3 separate regions of the Homo sapiens genome follow, and all the other regions are linked to region 3. Evidence: promoter capture Hi-C in 16 types of primary human blood cells and fetal thymus (Javierre and others, 2016). All regions are on one chromosome and are shown on one strand. The core of a region is centred on a gene start or on the middle of the fragment in contact, and the rest is flanking DNA. Distances in the headings are between cores, read along the strand shown. Region 1 overlaps RAPGEF6 (Rap guanine nucleotide exchange factor 6). Region 2 has its middle 19 kb from the start of CSF2. Region 3 holds the start of FNIP1 (folliculin interacting protein 1).

Region 1 (4,744 bases), core at 1,899-4,398, 300 kb after region 3:
AAACAGGTGTGCAAACGAAAACTTGACGTAAATATTCGTAGCAGCACTATTGACAATAGCCAAAAGGAAGAAATGACCCAAATGCCCATCATGGATAAACAAAATGTGGTATAGCCGTACAATAAAATATTATTCAGCCATAAGAAGAAAAGAAGTACTAATACTTACTACACCATGATGAACCTTGAAAACATTAAGCTAAGTAAAAGAAGCCAATCACAAAAGGCTAGGTATTGTATGATTCTATTTATGTGGAATAGCCAGAACAGACAAATAGACAGAAAAGCAGACTAGTGGCCGCCAGGGGCTGGAGAGAGGGCAGAATGGGAAGTGAAAGCTTAATGAGTTTGAGGTTTACTTTTGGAGTGATGAAAATGTTCCAGAACTCAGAACTAGACAGTGGTGATGGTTACACAGTATTGTTAAGGTACTAAATTATGAACTTTAAAATCATTAAAATGATGAATTTTATGTGGATTCTACCACGATTTAAAAAAAATGACTCATTTCTTACATTGTTAGGCATGTTATTCAAATCAGCTTACATTCGTTAATTTTTAACTTTTCTGAAGCAAAGTAAACGATTCTGCAGTTTGAAAATTTACAGTGTTTATAATGAAAGAAGTTTCAGATTTGTAAGGGTTTTTGTTTTGTTTTTTAATTTTTATAGAGACAGGGTTTTGCTATGCCCAGGCTGGTCTCAAACTCCTGGACTCAAGGGATCCTCCTTGCTTCAGCCACCTGAGTTGCTGGCATTGCAGGTGTGAGCCACTGCACCAGACTCAGATTTGTTTTTGTTACCGTTTTGGTTAAACATGTTCTTGACCATGGAAACGCTTTCGGTATGGATTTTTGATTGATAGGATTGCCTGCTTTATGACATGAAGTTTGCATTTTAAGGTGCTACCTGAAATAGACATTCTGTGTACTTCTTTTATCTTAACAAACAGGCTTGTGTCTTCTCACTGAGTGGACAGTGTCCTGGCTCTGTTACTTCTGTGCACAGGGAAGCAAAAGCTCAAATTAAACCATGCCTTTCTGTTAGAATGAGCCTTTTTTACACAAGGGAGGGAACAAGAGGGTTGTCAGTTCTTCATGAGTTTTAGACATGCTTTTGGAATCCACTTGTGCAGAAGGAATGCCTCTTATAACCATATGCTGCCTCTTTTATGTTTCCACAGGTGACACGGATTGTATTATTATGGGTAAATAATCATTTTAATGATTTTGAAGGTGACCCTGCTATGACTCGATTTCTAGAGGAATTTGAAAAAAATCTGGAAGATACAGTAAGGCTCAAAATAATTTCTATTCTTCAGAGTGTAGTGGTCCCCCCTCAACACTAGCAAACTCAGAACAGCAATAGCTTTCATTCTTTCCTGTGTCTTAAATGTCCATTCTTAGAACTTCCGAATCTGTATTCTAGACTTTTGTTCATTTATTCTCTGCCACCTCAATTAAAACAACATTTACACTCCTTCCTGACTCTTCCATTTATTTTTTATTTATATTTATTTATTTATTTATTGTATTTATTTGTTTTTTTTTTGAGACGGAGTCTCGCTGTCGCCCAGGCTGGAGTGCAGTGGTGCAATCTTGGCTCACTGCGACCTCCGCTTTCCAGGTTCAAGCAATTCTCTCCTACCTCAACCTCCTGAGTAGATGGGACTTCAGACGCGCACCACCACGCCCAGCTAGGTTTTGTATTTTTAGCAGAGACAGGGTTTCACCAGATTGCCCAGGCTGGTCTCAAACTCCTGACCTCGTGATCCGCCCGCCTCGGCCTTCCAGAGTGCTGAGATTACAGGCGTCTGAGCCACGGCGCCTGGCCCAAATCTTCCATTTCTGTATTGACATTCTTATCTCTTAGTTACTCAGGCTTATAAACCTGGTGTTATATGTGTACCCTCAGTCTCTTTTTCTTGAATTCCCTGGCCAGGATTTCCAGTCAGTTGCTAAAGTCACCTAGGTCACTGATTTAGTCATACACATGTATGTTCACATATTTTCTTATGGTCTCTCTCAGCCATTTCTTTTTTACTCCCTAGTTTAGGACTTAATATATCTGATCTATTATAATCTGCTCACTGACCCTAGTTCTAGTTTCTCTTCTAGTTCATTCTGTGTGGCCAAAAGATTGCTTTTAAAACACACATGTGATGACTATTATTTTCTTTGTCAGTAATCTATACTTCCTACCAAAGCAGTTCCTCACCCATATATTCAGGTCCCTTGCCTACCTTTTTGCCCTTTTTCCTGTGTACCCTAGATTATAGCCAAATCAGACTATTTTATTTTCCAGTTCTGCATCCAGACCATGCTAGAATTTTCTTTTCCTCACCTATTGAAACTCTGTTTCACTATCAGTGCATATCCTAAATATCAAATCTATATTGACTTTCTAGGTTTCCTTTCTATATAGGATTCATCTGTTCTAAATGTACAGCACCTAAGATAATTCCCTCCAAGTCCACAGTAGCTGTTCGTGAATTCATTTTAAACTCCCTGTCAGATATAAAACTTTGAGCTGTGACTTGGTTGCCTCCTTCAAGCAACTTGAAATTTTAGGAAATAAGTAGTAATGCAGCATAGTGTTTTAGGAGTACAGCTCAAGCTCCACCATTTGCTAGATTTGTAAACTCAGACATTGCCTGATCTTATGCCTTAGTTGTGTTATTTGTAAAGATAGTAGTTCCTAGTTCATTGAGATTGTTGTAAGGATTATAATGAGCTGAGAGGCATAACAGTCTGTACACAAAACCTGTGACATAGCAAATGCTCAAGAGCTGTAATTAATTACTTACAGAGCATAAGTGGATTGAGTTGAATGAAGTGGGAAAAATTGGCAAATTTGGTCCCTTTCATTACCCCTTGGTTCCTATTGACTTCTCGGCAGCACATGTGCTCTATACAAAATGGGGAGAGTGAACAACACTGGGAACTTGATTAAAAGGTTATAGAGGTACTCCACTATCATTTGAGTCATCCTGTGTTGGCTTTGTAAATATTCAAGGGACATCAGAATGTGGGAAAAAAAGTCATGGGATTTTTTTTTCCAGTAATCAGTTAGCCATCAGGTATTCATTGCATTCTACTTTATACTCAAAGACATCAATGTAGGATCAGAACAGATGTAAGACTTGGTGTCTGCTTTAAAAAAAAAAAACTTTAGCTTTTTGTTATGGACATGAGATTTGCACATATTAACACTATTTGAGATAATTGAAACTGGAATTAGAACTGGTAGACTATTACTGAGTTTAAGGAAGAGCTAAAATAATACAAGAAGGAAGTCTTTTCTGGACGAGATGAAAACTTGAATGTTTCTTTGAACATTGGACAATATTTAAAAAGGTGGTTCAAGTTGTTCAAGGTTTTGAATAAAGGTTTTAAAAGATTCTGGTTTTATATAACAGCCAGGAGATAAGCAAGGTGGGAGTAGAGTGTGTATTAGGAAAAGTTTAAGAAATGATAAGTAGGTCGGGCGCGGTGGCTCATGCCTGTAATCCCAGCACTTTGGGAGGCCGAGACAGGCGGATCACGAGGTCAAGAGATCAAGACCATCGTGGCTAACATGGTGAAACCCTGTCTCTACCAAAAATACAAAAAATTAGCCGGGCATGGTGGCGGGCGCCTGTAGTCCCAGCTACTCGGGAGGCTGAGGCAGGAGAATGGCATGAACCCGGGAGGTGGAGCCTGCAGTGAGTCGAGATCGCGCCACTGTGCTCCAGCCTGGGCGACAGAGCGAGGCTCCGTCTCAAAAAAATAAATAAATAAATAAATAAATAAATAAATAAATGATAGGTAATTTTTTGTCATGTCTCTGTAAATGAGACATCACTTGGAAATCTACCTATGATAATTTAAAAGTCTTATAATCATATTTAGAAATCTTGTTGAGAGTGCTTTGGCGTGGGAGTGCCCCCTTCTTCAATTTTGTTTACCTCAGCTTATACATGTATATTTATAACTCTAATTCTAATAATTTTCGTTGACTTTTTAAAAACCTATAGGAATAGATACATTTATATACATTTATCCTTTTCTGCTTAACAGAAGATGAATGGTCATCTCCGGTTATTGAATATTGCCTGTGCTGCAAAGGCTAAGTGGAGACAGGTTGTGCTGCAAAAGGCTTCCCGCGAGTCCCCTCTACAATTCAGCCTTAATGGAGGGAGTGAGAAGGGATTTGGTATTTTTGTTGAAGGAGTAGAACCTGGTAGCAAAGCTGCTGATTCAGGACTGAAACGTGGTGATCAGGTAAGGAAATAACCAACCACTTATATTCAAGCCTTCTTAAAAGTATTATGCCTGCTGCTTTTGTTCTCATCTTCCAGAAAGCATGATCAGTTTAAGGAAATATTTTTCTGAGCCTTTTTTTAGAGGTAGTATCTGCATATGGTTTATTTTTAAAAGTATTTGTCATATATTTATTACTTTTAATGGAAAATTTGGTGTAGTATGGCCAGAAATAACATGGTCTACTGAGCTCTATCAACATGACCTCCTTTGAATGGGCCTGCCTATCCTTCATGGATTAGGAAACTGTATAAGCTGGCAACTTGAGAATACTCCAGAACGATCAATATATGAATTAGCACCCTTGCAGGTTTTGAAGAAGACAGCACTTCTACCTCATAGTACTCTCAAATGTAAGTGGCTGCAGATTACTGAAGGTTATGGTAATCATTAAATTATGTTCATATGGTAACATAACTATATCCATAAGCAAAGTGAGCCAAAT
Region 2 (4,366 bases), core at 1,220-3,719, 300 kb before region 3:
ATTTGGATGCAACATAACAAAGACCTGGCATCCCTTTCAGTGTCTCATCCCGGCTGGTTGATGCCAAGTAGCAGGAAGAGTGATGAAAGGGCACCTGAGGAGACTCAGAGACTTTGGTTTAAGTGTTGTATCTGCCACTGTCTGGCAGACAAGTCGTTTCTCTGCTCACAGCTTCAGTGATGCGTCTGTGAAACGGGTCATGTTCTCTCTCTCACATGATCGTGGTGAGCATTAAGGAAATTATGTAAATCATTTCAGTGACTCTTCAGGCTTCAGCTCCCCATTCCTGCTGGGGTCATCTCCTAGGATAGTGAGGATGTCTGTGGACACAAACTAAGGAAGCCAGAAAACCGCTGTCCTGACTCAGTGTCTTGCCCCACCCTGGCCTCTGGCCCAGATTCTGGAGGCCTTAGTCAGGGGGTGGGGGTCTGTTTGCCCAGAGCTGGGGTTTCCCTATAGATCCTGTGGGACAGAACAAGTGCAGCCCACTGGAAAGCCCTTGAAACAGTTGGATGTCACCCTGTCTGAGAGGAGCTTAAAGCTGCCAGAACGGACTGGTGGACTGGTTGGATCCGCCCCCTTGGGAAAATCCAGGCATGAGCTGTCACCTGGACCTGAGTACAGTTCCTGTCCATCCTGCACTAGCGAGGCCATGGGGAATGCTCAGAAGGGGAGGCGTCGCGTGAAACCTGCTTAATATACAGCCTGTCCAAAGGTCCCAGCCCCCAGCCACCTGAACTGCCAGGACTGTTCCATTTCCCTATCCTCCACAGGCCTGCCCCGAGGCCCCTGCCAACAAATGTCACTTCCCCACACCAACCTGCTTCCTCCAGGATTGGTATTTTCTGACTTCTATGTTTTTCATGGCTTCTTTGATGCCACCGCTCCTGTTTCTCTTTCTCCTCTGTGACCAGTTCTTACAAGCCTCTTACACAGCTGCCTCCTCCTCTGCCCATCTTCTAGGTTTCCAAGTTCCTTGGGGCTTGGTACTTCTCTCTTTGGCTACCCTACAGGTCTCAAACTTGCGGTCTAAAGGCCAAATCAAGGTCTGCACCCTCCAACAAGGGTCCCTACCTTTTCTTAACCTGCCACCCTACAAACAACACTTCAGACTAGTGGTGTTCCCAGACATGTTTCTGCATGCCCCTCTTTGGGGAGAAACTCCACGATTATGGAGCCATCCTAAATGCGAGCTACTAGGTCCAGATTTCTTTGATCTAGCTTCAGCCTATCCCCACCACACCTCTTACCAGATCACCTGGCCTGGTTGAAGGGCTTTCTTTAAGGCATCCCATCACAAGCATGTTTTTCTCTGCCCCTTTGCCACCTGGCAAACGACTCCTCCTCTTTTCATAGACTGACCAAGAAACTATAGCCGCCCCAACCCAGATGATACTGATTCTGCTCACTACTGCTAGGGACAAAAGCTGCCTGACAGGTGTCTCTGATACCTGGTGGCTGAGATACAGTGAGTACTCAATATTAGATGGGGAGAGGGACCCTGTAGCCATTTCTCCTGAGGAGTTGAGTACCTGAGAATGGCAGAGTGAGGCTCTTCCCTGGGCTTATGTGTCACAATAGGAAAGCAACAGAATCCCAGTTGCCAGGGTTGTGGGGGGAAGCGTGGTTTGTAAGCATCAGGCTCTGACCCATCTGCCCAGGGACAAGATTTGTACAGGCTTTTTAAGGTGGTCTTGTGGATGCTGTGATACACAGCTCAGACCCCCCCGCCCCATCCCCTTTATGAATGAAAGATTTATTTCACCAGCTGGTGGGAGAGCTGCCAGAAGACAGCCCCAGCTGTCAGCCCTATTTTGGACTACTGCTAAAAAATAATTGCCTTGTGTAAGGTCACACCTACTTCTGTAGGGAGCCCACGTCTACCAACTGATAAATATGAAGGTATAAAGGCTTGGCTCCCTCTCCTTCTTGGGAAAACTCTGAAGGATCATCACAGATGAGCACTCCTGGTCTCAGCTGGAACCTCGGCTGGAATTGCATAGTAGCTCCACTTCTCCTTTTGCCTAGTCCTGTTTCAGTCCTCATTTCCACTGATGTTGACCCCAAGATCTTTTCCTAATAAAGGTCCTACATGCTCATATCCTACTCAGTCTGTTTCCTATAGAACCTAATCTATGGCATCTGGCTTTAGGAGTGACAGAAAAAAAATGAGATGCTAAGATATGATTTTGGAGCTGGATCATCCACTGTTGGCTGCCAATGAGGACTCCCATCACAGGTGGCAGGTGAAGCAGACAGCTTTTGGCCCATGGTAATAATTGTTAAAACTTTTACCTATGTTGGAAGAGAATGCATTAGATGGTGCAGTGCCTCAGGTGTTTGAGAAATATGGGGGAATTAGCCACTGCAAGGACAATGGAATTGCTAAGCTTGACTAACTTTCAGTAAAAGAAAATGGAGAGCTTAGAGTGATTAATTGGCAATGAAAACATAAGCATGAAAGCCGTAGGCCTCTTTGGTGCATCTATAGAAAAGAAGAAAAAGCAGAGAATCAGACCCAGACTTCTGTCAAAGTAGTTAAGCTTCAAAGAAGGTTATATTCCCAACCAAGGCAGGTCTTCTATGCCAAGGGCAGAGCCCTGGTTGGGGAAGAATGAGACCCTGACACGTGGGATGAGGACCTCTGTTGCACCTGAATATCTTGAATCCTCAGATTTCACTAAACACTCTGGACCTGCAGAAGTGACCTACTCATCTCTGTTAAAAGCTAGAACTTGCTTCTTACTTTAAAAAGAAAATGCGGAGGCTTCTGTCCTGCAAGACATGCTCTCATTCCATGTTACCTCTTTGTGCTAGGCCAATAACTAGGGTTAAGTCAAAACCTAACCTGGCCAGACATGCTGAACTTGCTAGTGTAGAAAAGGACTATACCTCAAAGGAAATTCTGGTCATATCCAGAGAGTACTAGCAGGAGCTTGGAGAGTATGCACAGGACTGGATTCTGGACCAAGGGGGTGGAACAGAAATTTGAACAAAAGAGTTTATGGATATGGGAACATTCTTCCAGGATAAAGTATTTAAAACTGTGGCAAGGCCCCAAGAGATGGTGCAAATACATCGTTTGGATGGCTCCTAGAAGCATGGAAAGAGGATGGCCCATATTAAGTGAGGGTAGCCAGAATGGCTATGGCAGACTATGAAGGACGTGGGTGTGCAGGAATAAATATACTAAGCAAATTCAGAATACTCGCCTGAGGGCCAAGAAGATACCAAAACAAGAAATGTATTGGAAAGAAGGGCACCAGTATCACCAAGAACTAAAATGGTGGCTAAAATAGGCCAGCATTGATAGGAAATGTCACAGAACTGGGCTCACTGATAGCAGTAGGGGTGATAGGACTCTGAGATAATAGAGGCCAAGTCATAGCACTTGGCCCAGTTGTCTGGGTGGCAAGATTGGAATGGCTGTTAAGAGGGCCTGGCTCCCGGGGAGTTATGGACATGGTTAATAAAACATAGCATCTGGAGGGTCACAATAGATGGCCAGCCAACAGTGCTGCGGGTTATTCTGTGCAAGAAAAAGAAATCAATCATGGATAATGAGTCCAGTCACCCCAATAAAAAGTAACCTGCCGAGTTTCCAGATCTGAACCAGTTTTCAGACTTAGAACCTACTGATTGAAGAAGATGCCAGATCTCCCAGAAGGAAGAGTCCCACACCACCACAGCAAGTGTGCATGATAATGATTTCCCCAGCCCTTTCCCAGGGGGACCTGTGGGCACTTAACTTGGATAGCTACATACTAGGAAAGAGAATATCCTAACATGTGAAAGACTATTGAACCCGGGATTAGAATTGACATTGTTACCTAGGTACCTGAAGTGGCACCAAAATCCTCTCATTAGAATGAGGGGTATATGTGGGCCAGGTGATAGATTCCTGGCCTGAGTTCTGCTAATAGCAGGTCCTCTGGGTCCACAGACCCACAGTGATATAATCAGATCAACACACTTGATAATTAGCACAGCCCCTACATTGGGTCCTTGGCCTGCATGGTGAGAGTGATCATAGTGAAGAAAGCCAAGTGGAAGCCTTCAAAACCTTCCCATTCCAGGCAAAATAGTAAATCAAGAACAATATCACATTCCAGGGTTAATGGCAGAAATTATTGCCACCATTATAGACCTAAAAGGGAGTCCGTCATATCTTCATTTAATTTACCAGCAAAACCCAGTTAAATCCTGAAAGATGACAGCAGGCTACTACCAATTCAACAGTAGCCCCATTTGCAGCCACTGTGCTTGCCAAATGTGTCTTCACTACAACAGATTAACATGGGCTCAGGCATACAGTGTGTAGCTGCTGATTTGGTGAATCCATTCTTTTCCACCCCTGTTAGAAATT
Region 3 (4,758 bases), core at 1,460-3,959:
AGACTTTGGCCTGTTTCCACTTGTACTCATTTAGTGTAACTTAACTAGTGTAAAAACAAAACTTCCCAAATGATTGCCCCATTAATTGACTGATAGGATCTACACTTCTGTTTACTTTTTAAAAATTGCATTGACTTTATTTTTTTGTTTACAAAAACTTCATTTTTCATTCTACATTCAAATGTTTTGTGAGAAAAATATACACAGCTCATTTTACCCTGTTAGAAATCTTTCAGCATTTGATGCCAGAGGATTATCTGAAATGTCTAGGTGAAATAGTACTGCTGTTTTGATCCTGTATTGCCCAGTAGTTTCTGGACCTTGGGTAATACACAGAGCAACTGAATGATTTTCAACCTAAGCACCTCAAATGTTACCTCCTCAGACTTTGCTGACACCCTCATTTCATTGCTTATTTCTTACTAACTCCACAACATTAGTTACTATCTGAAATAACTTTATATACTTATTTACTGTCTCCTCACCTAGAAAGTTAGCTCTTTTGTACTTTGGATCCCCACTGCCTAGAACGTAAATGATTGTGGAAAGAATATGTTAATATCTTAATCATCAATAAATAGTGCAATAACTTTAAATACTTATTTACTGTCTCCTCACCTAGAAAGTTAGCTCTTTTTTACTTTGGATCCCCACTGCCTAGAACATAAATGATTGTGGAAAGAATATGTTACTATCTTAATCATCAATAAATAGTGCTTTAAAAAAGTCTTGGAACATTGAAACTCAGTATTTTGGTTGTTGACAAATTCTCAAAGAGATATAAATTCTGCCTATTACTTTTTCTTTTCTAAATATCTTCAGACCCTTATTTAGAGCATAAACTCTAGCTGCAAATCAGTGGGAGTTGGTAGCCACTTAAAGAAAATAAAATTTAATTTGTATACCTAATTAAATGAAATTCTCAAAAAGTATTTGTTTTTTGAGATAGGGCCCCCCTCTGTTGCCCAGGCTGAAGTACAAGTGGCACTCACTGCAGCGTTGACTTCCCACACTCAAGCTACCCTCCCACCTCAGCCACCCGAGTGGGACCACAGGTGTGCGCCGTGACCACACCTGGCTAATTTTTGTTTGTTTTTGAGACGGTGTCTCGCTCTTGTTGCCCGGGCTGGAGTGCAATGGCACAATCTCGGCTCACTGCAACCTCTGCCTCCTGGGTTCAAGCAATTCTCCTGTCCCAGCCTCCCAGGTAGTTGGGATTACAGGCATTCGCCGCCACCACGCCGGCTAATTTTTTGGAGACGGGGTTTCACCATGCTGGTCAGGCTGGTCTTGAACTCGTGACCTCAGGTGATCCACTCGCCTCGGCCTCCCAAAGTGCTGGGATAACAGGCGTGAGCCACAGCGCCCGGCCACACCTGGCTAATTAAAATTTTTTTTTTTTTTTTTTTTTTGTAGAGACAGGGTCTTACTGTTGCCCAAGCTGGTTTCGAACTACAGAGCTAAAGCGATCTGCCTGCCTCGGCCTTGCAGTGTTGCGATTACAGACGTGAGCTACCACGCCTGCCCAAAGTATTTTTATCCAGCCTTCCAACCATATACAAGTTATTTCCTAAATTTCTCTGAGGATTACATCCCATTGTACGAGCTTCCTCATCCTGGAGGGGGAGTGAGTGAATGGATGGGGTTGCTGAAAATTTATAAGATTAGTTTGATACAAACTCTGATATATTTTGGTTCCATGGGTTAAATAAGACTGTGAGGTCACATGTGAGCAATGTTTTTCTTTTTTTAGAAAGCGTTTCTTCCCTGTAACTTGACTAAAATTCCACAGTTCCTCCCGTCTTCATACCTAAACATTAAGATAGATTTATTAAAAATCTAAATAATTAGCGTAAAGGGTTAGATATCTGTACATATATGTCTTTAGGCTTCCTGACTTCGTTGGTTTCACCTGATTTTGTTGGTTAACAAGGAAACAGCCTAACTCCTGAGCCTCCAATCGCTAGCTCTTCCAAGAGACTAATTCCCGGTGTCAGGGTTCTAGGCGCTAGTACAAACTGCCCGCAGTGCCTGCTCGAGGTCGTCTTTGCGGGGAGCCATGGCTGTGGCAGGGGTCCCGGCAGTTTCCTTCACCAGTCCCTGTGAGCCAGCCCCCGCGCTGTCCAGATCCCAGACCTCTCGCGGGCCGGCGCAGCCTTCTAAGGGCGGTCCTGGGGTCCTGGGCTCAAAGTCCAGCCTTGGCCGCGGCCCCACGGGTACGCTTGTGGGCCTTCCGTGCTCCAGGAGCCGCCAGACTCTGCCCGGCGCGGAATGGAGGTGTGAAGCCGCAGAAGCTAGGGAGGGGCTGACAAGGAAGAGTCGGTTGCCCGTGGTTCCCTACGCAACTCTGTGGGTGCGGGGAGTCGAAGCCTTCTGCACTCCAAGGCTCCTGGCATCGTCCCCGCGCCACCCCGGCGTACCCTCTGATGGTCGCTGACAGCTTCACAGGGGAAGATCGAGACTGACCCTTCTCCCGCTACACATCCCTAGCCACCTTCCAGTCCTGTCCTCTCGGCTCACGCCCCGCCCCTGCCACGTGACGGGACCCGCCAGTGAGCCTATGGGAGGCAGCTCCGCCCCACGCCCCCACCTTGCCCCTTGCTCCGCGCGCCGCCACGTGATGCGGCCCCCCTCCAGCCAATGAGTGCCGGCCTTGCCTCGCGCCCCGCCCCGCGCGCCGTGGCCGTTTGAAGTGACTAATTTCTGTCATATGACTGAGGCGCCCATGGGGGTGGCGGGGCGGCTGTAGGAGCAGGGGCCTAGCAAGCGCCCAGCGGAGCGACCCCTGCCTGGCCGTGGCTAGCATGGCCCCTACGCTGTTCCAGAAGCTCTTCAGCAAGAGGACCGGGCTGGGCGCGCCCGGCCGCGACGCCCGGGACCCAGATTGCGGGTTCAGGTAGGGCGCTGTGGGGCGGGGGTCGCGGAGCCGATGGCCTTGTGGGCTCCGGGCTCCAGGGGTGTTGGGGCCTTCGGTGTTCCGACCCGAGCGGAAGCGCCGCGCCGAGAGCAGCATCTGGTCCTCGGTGGGGTGGAGCCGGCTGCGGGCTAGCGCCGAAGGGTTGGAGCGAGGTCCTACCTTTTATTTTACCCCACCCGCCTCGCCGTTGCCCCTTCCCCCTCCTCCCGTCGGTTTGTTTACGACCTGCCCCCAGCCACGCGCGACTCTGCTCCTCCGGACCTAGCACCGCGGCCTGAGACTTTGGGTCCACACGCCTTCCTGGCACCGAGTAGAGTTGGGCGCGGGCTGGATTGGACCTCAGCCGCCGTACTCCGGGCCGCGAAGTTCTCCCCTCCTCCCCGTGACCAGTTGTCCTCCGGGCGCTGCGTTCCAGCTCCGTTGGCGTTGTGGAGAGAGCGGCACGTTTGGCCAAGCTTCTGAGTTGAGAGAAGGCTGGAGGAGCGAGTAGGCAACGTGCCGTTCTTTCAGGTTTCTTGGACGCTAAAATTGGAGGTGTGCAGTAACCGGACCGAGCGACCTTAATGTTATCGAAGGAGAAATGTGAAACTTGAGTTTAGGGTTACTGCCGAAGGAAGACCAAATTGAATGAAATCTGGCCTTGGAATTGGCTGTAGATTCTTCCTCCTCGAATTGTTACTGAAAAGGAGTCTTAAAAATTGAAAATGTTAGTAGAGCATTTTGTAGTGTTACAGGCTTTGTTAATTTTTCATTGTAGTACCTGTTGCTGGCAGAGTAACTTTTCAGAATTGTAAGATTTGATATAAACCTGAATTCAAGGTAAAATTTAGTCGTTAAACTGCACCTGAGGAGATTATGTCCAAACAGCCTTTATACGTATTGCAGTGTGGAAACTTGCAAATATAACTAGGCTAAATGTCAAATGCCACACGTTTTAAACTTGGTAGGATAGCAAAGAGCCCAGTTGTACAACAATAGTAGAAACAAAAAAATAAAATAAAAATAAAAAAAGAGAATCTGTCAAATTTTGGAACAGGCGAAGTTGCCACACTGGTTTAAGAAATTTTGCTATTCTTAAAATTATTCACTCTCTCTTGCTAATGCAGGTCTCATCAGGAAAAATTCAGTAAATGCATATGGAATTGAAGAGGTTTTTCTACGTATCTGTCTTTTCCCCTGAAAAATAAATGTGTCATGCTCATCTGTCTCTCTTTAAACATTTCTTTAGTGTTTTTCCTTTGAAAAATGAAAGTGCAGGTTAGATAATACTACATTGAGCCATCTAGTAACTCAAGCGACAATAGGAAACAGGTTCCGATAGGATATTTAAAAGGTGGCATTTGAATAGACAACTGCTTTCTATTTCTGGACAAAGATTGACTTTGGGTACGTAGGTTTACAAGGCTCTCAAGTCACTCATATGAAAAAACATTTTCACGTCTGGTTTTCAAAAATGTAAAGTCTACTACATAGTTGCGTAATACTATTTTACAGTTACCAAAGAACTTTCTCATCAGTTATCTTATTTGATGTTTCACAGCAATCTTACGAGATAGAGCAAGTAGCAGTGCAGATAACTATATACTTTTGCCAGTGGAAGTAAGAATTATCTGTAAGCCCAATAACTGCAGTACATTATGGAATCTCTCACTTTAAAAATAAAACTTGTGCATGTGAGAAATGAAAACTGATGAAACAGAATAGGCATATCTGAAGGAAAAAAAACCATTCTGGTTAATGTCACATAGCTAATAACTTACAGATCTAATCAACCCAGGGTTTTTTAAAAACTATTTCATTGAGCTATAATTTATACACAATAAAGTATAAATACATTTTAA

The links. The method cuts DNA at HindIII sites, captures the fragments that hold promoters and counts their contacts. A CHiCAGO score of 5 or more calls a contact.
Region 1: a fragment that was not itself captured here is called in contact with the fragment with the promoter of FNIP1 in region 3 in 1 of 17 cell types (neutrophils); the score reaches 5.1 in neutrophils.
Region 2: a contact is called between a fragment that was not itself captured here and the fragment with the promoter of FNIP1 in region 3, in 1 of 17 cell types (naive CD8 T cells). The highest score is 5.5, in naive CD8 T cells.

The regions. Positions count from the first base shown.
Region 1 is chr5:131,492,098-131,496,841 of GRCh38, reverse strand. RAPGEF6 (Rap guanine nucleotide exchange factor 6) reads left to right here. Exons shown (of 28, transcript NM_016340.6): 13 at 1,182-1,289; 14 at 4,057-4,260. Among named protein-coding and RNA genes, the nearest start is that of RAPGEF6, 140 kb to the left of the region's middle. The HindIII fragment of the contact is 5,618 bases long and covers 340-4,744 here.
Region 2 is chr5:132,090,852-132,095,217 of GRCh38, reverse strand. No RefSeq gene overlaps it. Among named protein-coding and RNA genes, the nearest start is that of CSF2, 19 kb to the right of the region's middle. RefSeq lists an enhancer at 1-1,070. The HindIII fragment of the contact is 153 bases long and covers 2,393-2,545 here.
Region 3 is chr5:131,794,968-131,799,725 of GRCh38, reverse strand. FNIP1 (folliculin interacting protein 1) reads left to right here and starts at 2,709. Exons shown (of 18, transcript NM_133372.3): 1 at 2,709-2,896. The coding sequence starts at 2,805. RefSeq lists silencers at 2,506-2,765, 2,816-3,095. The HindIII fragment of the contact is 14,343 bases long and covers 1-3,374 here.